Linked DNA regions of Homo sapiens: region 1 is linked to region 2. The links are contacts of gene promoters, found by promoter capture Hi-C in blood cells and fetal thymus (Javierre and others, 2016). All regions are on one chromosome and are shown on one strand. Each heading gives the region's core, a stretch centred on a gene start or on the middle of the fragment in contact. The rest is flanking DNA. Distances are from core to core; before and after follow the strand shown. Region 1 holds the start of TRY-ATA1-1 (tRNA-Tyr (anticodon ATA) 1-1). Region 2 holds the start of DNAJB2 (DnaJ heat shock protein family (Hsp40) member B2).

Region 1 (4,301 bases), core at 155-2,654, 1.0 Mb before region 2:
AACTCCTAAAACAAGAGACCTTGGAGAGTCCTTGGCAGCATCCTCCTGCTGTCTATCATCTTGGAAGGCCCACTTGATGAATTTGGATTATCCAGTTTTACTGGCATTGCTAGAAAATCTACTTCTGTTCTTGCAGATCTGGCTGAGAGAGAGAAGCCTTGTATTACTTGTCTATTTACATAGGAATGTATGGACTGTAGAAGCTTCAGGTTTGGAGATTGGAACATAGAAGGAAGGGCTTCCTTTATGAGCACCAAGACAACTCAGCTTCTTTCATTCCATTGTCTTCTGTCCGCAAGAAGAGCTTAAGTTTGCTCTAAAGATTTTATTGATGAATTCTAAATAGCAACAGGATCCTCAGTGAAAAAAGACTCATGCAAAGTCCCAGAGCCCAGAGAAAGTATGGTAGTTTATCACCTATGTTAGTGCAAAGGAAAAGGATTATCACTACTTTTCATCACATTTTGAAGATCTGACTTATTAAGTACTTTGCAGTCTCTCCCGTTTGAATCTGAAGTGTAGTGGTAGCAGCTAGCACTTGTCATATTTCAGGTTTGGTGTAGTTTATTTTTAACCTCCTGCTGGTCTGGAGGGCTACAAAGGTCACACCACATAGAACAAACCCTATAGCTTGAGTTGCCACTCATCTTACACCCACTTCTCTTCTGGTTGCTTTTGCTTTGTCTTGGCAGGAGTTCAAAGAAGGACGCAGAGCCAGCCACACAGCCCCACAGGTCCTCTTTAGCCACAGGGAACCTCCTCTGGAGCTGAAAGACACAGACGCCGCTGTGGGTGACAACATTGGCTACATTACCTTTGGTGAGCAGGGTGCACTTGCTGCTTTTGTGCCGCTTTAATGAGTTCACACAGCAGAATACCTAAATCTGCACAGAACCTTGGTTAACATTTTAAGGTAGGCAAACGCAGGCATACCAACTTGTTCCTGTTGCCATTGCAGTGACTAAAGGAGGGATGTCACAGGGTATTAATTACAGAGCAGGCCATATGCTATTTTTGTACAGTAATCCTTTCCTTTTTTTCCCCATTTTTCTTAAATCTTAAAAATAAGACTGAATTCTGATATCAAGAGTTAAGGTCCCTTCAATAGTTCAGCTGGTAGAGCAGAGGACTATAGCTACTTCCTCAGTAGGAGACGTCCTTAGGTTGCTGGTTCGATTCCAGCTTGAAGGAGACAAGTACAGTTTTGGCTGGGCACGGTGGTTCATGGCTGTAATCACAGCACTTTGGGAGGTTAAGGCAGGTGGATCACGAGGTCAGGAGATCAAGATCATCCTGGCCAATGTGGTGAAACTCTGTCTCTACTAAAATACAAAAAAAAATTAGCTGGGCATGGTGGCGCACGTCTGTAGTCCCAGGTACTCCAGAGGCTGAGGCAGGAGAATTGCTTGAACCCGGGAGGTGGAGGTTGTAATGAGCTGAGATCGTGCCACTGGACTCCAGCCTGGGCAACAGAACAAGACTCTTGTCTCCAAAAAAAAAAAAAAAGAGTTGAGGCTGGGTGCGGTGTCTCACGCCTGTAATCCTAGCACTGTGGGAGGCCAACATGGGCAGATCACCTGAGGTCAGGAGTTCGAGACCAGCCTGACCAACATGGTGAAACACTCCGTCTCTACCAAAAAAATAACAAAGAAATTAGCTGGGCGTGGTGGTGTGCGCCTGTAATCCCAGCTACTCGGGAGGCTGAGGCACAAGAATCCCTTGGACCCAGGAGGCGGAGGTTGCAGTGAGCTGAGATCACACCATTGCACTCCAGCCTGGATGACAGAGTGAGACCTTGTCTCAAAAAGAAAAAAGAAAAGAGTAAAGGATAGGCGGGGCACAGTGGCTCATACCTGTAATCCCAGCACTTTGGGAGTCCGAGGTTGGTGGGTCACTTGGGTCCAGGAGTTTGGGACCAGCCTGGATAACATGGTGCAGGCTCATCTCTACAAAAAGCAAGGGGCCAGGCACAGTGGCTCACACCTGTAATCCCAGCACTTTAAGAGGCCAAGGCGAGCAGATCACTTGAGGTCAGAAGTTCGAGACCAACCTGGCCAACATGGTGAAACCACACCTCTACTAAAAATACAAAAATTAGTTGGACATGGTGACATGTGCCTATAGTCTATAGTCCCAGCTACTCGGGCAAGCGAGGCATGGCAATTGCTTAAACCCAGAAAGTGGAGGTTGCAGCAAGCCGAGATCATCCTGCTGCGCTCCAGCCTGGGAGACTGTCTCAAAAAAAAAGATAACTAGGCATGGTGGTGCATGACTGTAGTCATAGCTACTTGAGAGGCTGAGGTGAGAGGATCACTTGAACCCAGGAGGTAGAGGCTGCAGTGAGCTGTGATGGCACCACTACACTCCAGCCTGGGTGGCAGAGTGAGACCCTATCTCACCAAAAAAAGGAGTTAAGAAGAGAACCACCTAAGCAGCTAGATGGGGGTTCTCTGTCATTTGGCAATTCTTGGTTTTTTGCTTATTAAGCCCAAGCTCCAGCCGTGATCCACTTACTCCACTTTTTCGCGGAATAAATTCAGGTCTTCCTTCAGTTGCTCCAGCCTCATGCACTGGCTGATTATGATAGCTTACAGTTTGGAATTAATAAGCTTGTTCACACTGCACCCAATGCCACTGGAATGTCTCCTTTGTGAAATGTAATTTAATTCACCTCAGTGGTAAAGGTGAACCTGTTTATTGGTGATGAATCTGTTGATTTACCAAATTTCATTAAATCTAAACTATACACTTTTTTCTTTTTTCTTTCTCTCTGTCACCCAGGCTGGAGTGCAGTGGTGTGATCTCGGCTCACTGCAACCTCTGCTTCCCAGGCTCAAACAATTCTCGTGCCTCAGCTTCCCAGGTAGCTGGGACCACAGGCGTGTGCCACCACACCCGGCTAATTTTTGTATTTTCAGTAGAAACAGGGTTTCCAGCTGGGCACGGTGGCTCACGCCTGTAATCCCAGCACTTTGGGAGGCCGAGGCAAGTGGATCACGATGTCAGGAGATCGAGACCATCCTGGCTAACACAGTGAAACCCCATCTCTACAAAAAATACAAAAACTTAGCTGGGCGTGGTGGTGGGTGCCTGTAGTCCCAGCTACCCTGAAGGCTGAGGCAGGAGAATGGCGTGAACCTGGGAGGCGGAGCTTGCAATAGGCCAAGATCACGCGACTGCACTCCAGCCTGGGCGACAGAACAAGACTCCGTCTCAAAAAAAATTAAAAAAAAAAAAAAGAAACAGGGTTTCCATGTTGGCCAGGCTGATCTCAACTCCTGGCCTCAAGCAATCCACTCACTTCAGCCTCCCAAAGTGCTGGGATTACAGGCGTGTGCCACTGCGCCCAGCCAGCTATACCATTTTTTTCAAGTTTTTGTCTTTGAAGCTGGGATGCATCTTACAATTCATAGCATGTCACACTTTAATTGGCAGCATGTTTCTCTTGTGGTACATAAAATTATGGCAGACTTACAGTCATAAGCACCTTAGATTCTTTGAAGTATAGTTGTCTTCTGTTGTGGTGTTCATTTACTTTCAGGCCAGGGCACATTGACACAGAAATTCCACACTTCCTTAGGAGGCATTCCTTTTCATTTCAACGAAAACTTCAGACAACTGACGGGGTTTTGCAGATAGTGAGTAGAGGAGGTGCAGCAGGTAAAAACGATTCCAGAAAACCAGGGCAAGAGGGGCATGCAGGCCTGCTGTAGTGCAAAGGACTTTGTGATGAGCACACAGGTCTTTTTTTGAGATGGAGTCTTGCTCTGTCACTCAGGCTGGAGTGCAGTGGCACCGTCTTGGCTCACTGCAACCTCCACCCCCCGGGTTTAAGCGATTCTCCTGCCTCAGCCTCCTAAGTAGCTGAGATTACAGGCACACGCCATCACATGTGGCTAATTTTTATATTTTTAGTAGAGATGGGGTTTCACCATGTTGGCCAGGCTGGTCTCAAAACTCCTGATCTCAGATGATCAGCCTGCGTCAGCCTCCCAAAGTGCTGGGATTACAGGCGTGAGCCATCGCGCCCAGCCTCACACAGGTCTTTAGGTGGCTGGTGTCACAGGGTGGACTTCAGTCAGGCCCATTCAGAGCAGCTCCTCCTGCCTGGCCTATCATGAGGGTTCAGGTCCTTACACCTTATTGTCTGTTTTCACAGTGAGAATATGGGAAATTCTCTGGCATCTGTTTTCTGGGAAGGTTTACTCTATTTCAGCACCAAGGACCTAAGACAGGCAGCTGCATTTCCTAATCCTGATTCCTTAAAGTAAACTGTTACAGCCAGTTAGTGTGATCCTGGA
Region 2 (4,479 bases), core at 1,980-4,479:
CTGGGTCAAAGATTATGCATTTTAAATCTTGCTCTCTTTAAAAGTCACACCAGGCCGGGCACGGCGGCTCACGCCTGCAATCCCAGCTACTTGGGAGGCTGAGGCAGGAGAACTGCTTGAACCCGGGAGGCAGAGGTTGCCGTGAGCCAAGATTGCACCATTGCACTCCAGCCTGGGCAATAAGAGTGAAACTCTGCCTCAAAAAAAAAAAAAAAAAAAAAGTCACATCAAATTACCCACCCTCCCACTACCAATCTATAAGAATGCCTGTGCCCTCAGCCTTGCCCATACAATGTATTCAACTTTTTTCTTTTTTTTGTCTTTGTCAATCATCCAATAAGTGAAACAAAGTATTTTGTTAGGGCCATGTGCCCGGGTGCAGTGGCTCTGGCCTATAGTCCCAGCACTTTGGGAGGCTGAGGCAGGAGGATCATCTGAGGCCAGGAGTTTGAGACCAGTCTGGCCAACATGGTGAAACCCCATCTCTACAAAAAATACAAAAATTAGCCAGGGGTGGTGGCACATGCCTGTAATCCCAGCTACTTGGGAGGCTGAGGCAGGGGAATTGCTTGAACCTGGGAGGTTGCAGTGAGCCAAGATAGTGCCACTGCACTGGAGCCTGGATGACAGAGCAAGACTCCATCTCAAAAAACAAAACCCCAAAGTATTTTGTTGTAGCTTTATTATTATTATTCTTTTAAAAATTATTATTATTTGAGATGGAGTTTCACTCTTGTTGCCCAGGCTGGAGTGCAATGGCACGATCTTGGCTCACTGCAACCTCCGCCTCCCGGGTTCAAGTGATTTTCCCGTCTCAGCCTGCCGAGTAGCTGGGATTACAGGCATGTGCCACCACGCCTGGCTACTTTTTGTATTTTTGGTAGAGACAGGGTTTCACCATATTGGCCAGGCTGATCTGAAACTCCTGACCTCAGGTGATCTACCCGCCTTGGCCTCCCAAAGTGCTGGGATTACAGGCATGAGCCACCATGCCTGGCCTGTCGTAGCTTTAGTTTACAGTTTTTTTGTGAATGAGATTGAGCATCTTTTCATTTGTTTAAAAGCCAGTATTTCCTCTTCTGTGAGCTGCCTGTCCCTTTGTCCATTTAAAAATGTCATTGTCTTTCATTAGTTGGCATTTCTTTGTGGACAAAGGAAATTAAACCTTTGTCTGCTAGATGTGCTCCATATAATTTCCCTCAGTTGTCATTTGTCTATGTCCTATCCCCTTGAGCACAGAGATTGGAATTTAAACTTTTTTATATTCTTTTTCTTAATATAACAAGACATACACGGTAGGTGCTAGACAAATGTCTGTTGGCACAGCAGAGTAAGAAGAAAAAGGCAGAGATCTGGAAAATTTGGAGTGACTTAACCCAACCACTCCTTCCTCTTATACCAAGTCTAACCCTTAGTCTTTGTGTCAGTCAGGACTCTTATAAACAGCAGAAGCTAACTGGCAAATTGTTTCAAGTCCCCTGCCCCCAACAATTATAGAGATATCGGATAGCACACAGAATCAATGCAAGGGCCAGCAAACAAGGGTCAGCAATCAGACAGGCACCTAGGGAAGCTGGGCAGCCAGTACCACAGTCAAGGTTGGGCACAGGACAGCCTGTGTAGGAGACTCCTGTCCCCTCCACCCTCCGCAGTGATCCTCCTACTCTCGTCCCTCACCTGCGGCAGTAGCGCTGACACTTCCTCCTCCAGACACTAGAGGCCGCTGTTGGCCCCATCGCCTCCACCGCCGCCGCAGAAATGAATTCCTAAACCAGCCTTGCTATTCCGTGACTTGCTCCAGATTCAAAGTCCCAGTTGGAGCATCCGATTGGCGGAGCTCATGTCTTCTGCCTGCAACCCCAGAGCCGAGTCAGGGAGAGCAAGCATTGGGGCTTTGTGGCAAATGGTGGCCTGCTTTCCATTAGGGCCCTTGCGATGGGAATTCCCCAAATGTAGGCAGGAGGTTCTGATGGTGGGCAGCCAGGAAACCAGGACACTCACACCACCTTCTTCTCTCACGTCCGCCTCAAACCCTTCTCGTTGGCGAAGTATTCCTGGGTCCCCCAGCCTAAAGCACTTTTCTGGACTCACATAACCATTATTGCTTGAGCCAATCACGATGCCAGCAGGACCGCAGTAACACCTAATTCGTACCATGTCTCATTTGACTTTCAAACAACCCTAGGCACTACCTATATTTAGTGAGAAAAAAAGAGTGCTCAGAGATTTTCCCAAGTCTCACAGTAATGCCAGGTTGTACTCTGTTTCCAAAGCCTCGGGTTTCCCAGCGGGCTACACTGATGGGCTGGTATCTTATCAAGTTCAAGCTCTGCAAAGGCAGGGCTTGGGCCACATTCTTCTTTATACGGCCTGGCAGCATCTTGAATGCAGAAAAATGCTCAGCTAACGCCTTTGGATTGGCCTGGATGGGATCAAGCAGGAGCCAGTTCTGGAAGGTTTCCTAACTCTCCAATGAGGCCTGAACCCAGGGAGCATTTTGAAGTGGAATAGGCCTACTCAGGATCAGTTTGGGAAGACTTGAACCTGGGGAATTCCGTTGTACGGCCCCCTTTACCTCACCTCCCCCAAATGTGTCAAAACTGTCAACAAGAGGTTTGCAGGTGTTCATTATTTATTCATCCCACGGGTAGTTTTGAACCCCTACGACTGCTCTAATAGACCAGTGAGAAAAAACACACAATTCCTGTCCTGTGAAATCGACATTCTAGTGGGGGAGGTGAATGGTAATAAAAAATAATCAAACCAATAAATGCTAATTTGTGGCTCTAACAAGCCTGATGAAGGAAATGCCACGAGATGCTGTAAAAGGCAGTTCTGACCTACTCAGGAAAGCCAGGGCAGCCTGCTGGGGGACCTGGGGCTGGAGCTGGGAGCTGAAGAAGGGGGAGGAGTTAGAACCGTGGTGGGGGGAGGGAGGGAAGAGTCTGAGTCCTCGAGGTGGGTGAGTAAGCATGGATCATCGCTCATGTTTATAAGAAAGTGACAGAGGAACCTGGGGGCCGAGCGGCTTGTTTGTGGGCTGCCCCAGCCTCCGTGCGAGCGCTTCTCGCTTGGATGGAGGCGGGGCCGCAGTCTCCCAGGTCCCAGCTGGGGCTGACGTCGTCCTGGTGTGTGCCCAAAATAGCCGGCTCCGCCCTCTTCTCCCGGCAGCCCCTGCAGGCCCCCACCCCCCCAGGGGACAGGCGGAGCCGGCCTTCTCCCCGTCTCTAGTAGTTTCCGCACCGCTGACGCATGCCTGCGCGCACAGCTGGGCCGGGCGCGTCCTACGCAGCAGCCGCGAGCCGGGCTGCGGGTGCCAGACGGTTCCCGGCGGGGGGCAGGGGCGGGGCGCCGCAGGAGGCCGGGACTCCTGGCGGAGGAGGTGCGGCCGGGGGCCCGGGTCAGGCTGGGGGCCCTGGATCGGACTGCTGGAGTTGGGGGGCCCCGATAGGGCTCCTGGGCCTGGGCGTCGAGATAGCTCTTGGCCCCGGCCTGCGGGGGCAGATAAGGCTGCCGGAGGGAGCCTAGTCACCGGCCGCAAGCAGAGCCCGGTGTGCTCCGCTTCCAACTGGGAGCGCCTTCCGCCACCCGGGGAGGGGGACTGCTGCAGCCACAGGGTGGGGCTCTTGGTTCTTTCCGCCTGACTCCTTCTCTTCTGCAGCCCCAAGGAGGCCCGCCTGACGACTGACCAGTTGCCATGGCATCCTACTACGAGATCCTAGACGTGCCGCGAAGTGCGTCCGCTGATGACATCAAGAAGGCGTAAGTGCCTCCGTATGCAACAGAAGACCTCTCACCCTCCACCCGCCACCACCATGGGGCACTTCAGAGTGACACCTGTAGGTGTCTGAGGGAACCAGGTCGTTAGAAAGCACTGGGGTGCTTCTTCCGAGTGACACCTGCAGGGAGGAAAGAGACCCCTGGTAGAGTACAAGGAGAACGTCCAGAGAGTGAAGTAGTTAGTTCCTCTGGGAGCTGCACTGTGTTATGGGTTGTTCTCCAGTTGATCTTCCCCTCCTCCTCCTCCTCCTCCTCCTTTCCCCTCCCCTCCCCCTTCCCCCTAGATTTGGGCATTCTCAGGCTGCAGTGCAAAGATGCAGTGCAAAGAGGCTCTATGAGGAGGAGGGGCCGGTGTCCCTGTACTCTTCGAGGCCACATGTGCCCCAACCTTTGCAGCCCCAGTCCAGTGAGCCCTAGGGAGGGGCTAGGGACCCTGGCATTGTATCCGCTTGTACATGTGGTCCCAGCACTGGTGGCGGAGGAGAGAGGGTGGAACTTGATGAAAATATCACAGCAGCGGCAGCCCTAGCAGCTGGGGTGGACTGGGACCCGGGGGTGAAAGGACAGTGATAGGCTAATGGGAAAACAGGTCGTTCGGTTCCTGGGTGGGAAGTGCCTGCATTTGTCCCCCGACTCTCTCCTCTGCACCCACTTTCTGCAGGTATCGGCGCAAGGCTCTCCAGTGGCACCCAGACAAAA

Evidence for each region. The method cuts DNA at HindIII sites, captures the fragments that hold promoters and counts their contacts. A CHiCAGO score of 5 or more calls a contact.
Region 1: a contact is called between a fragment that was not itself captured here and the fragment with the promoter of DNAJB2 in region 2, in 1 of 17 cell types (naive CD8 T cells). The highest score is 6.5, in naive CD8 T cells.

What each region holds. Positions count from the first base shown.
Region 1 is chr2:218,244,728-218,249,028 of GRCh38, forward strand. ARPC2 (actin related protein 2/3 complex subunit 2) reads left to right here. Exons shown (of 11, transcript NM_152862.3): 8 at 693-819. It overlaps TRY-ATA1-1 (tRNA-Tyr (anticodon ATA) 1-1), which reads left to right and starts at 1,099; the gene lies at 1,099-1,191. The HindIII fragment of the contact is 2,406 bases long and covers 202-2,607 here.
Region 2 is chr2:219,276,137-219,280,615 of GRCh38, forward strand. DNAJB2 (DnaJ heat shock protein family (Hsp40) member B2) reads left to right here and starts at 3,230. Exons shown (of 9, transcript NM_006736.6): 1 at 3,230-3,382; 2 at 3,662-3,762; 3 at 4,442-4,479. The coding sequence starts at 3,698. RefSeq lists an enhancer at 1,350-2,054 and silencers at 1,631-1,833, 3,075-3,554. The HindIII fragment of the contact is 26,435 bases long and covers 1-4,479 here.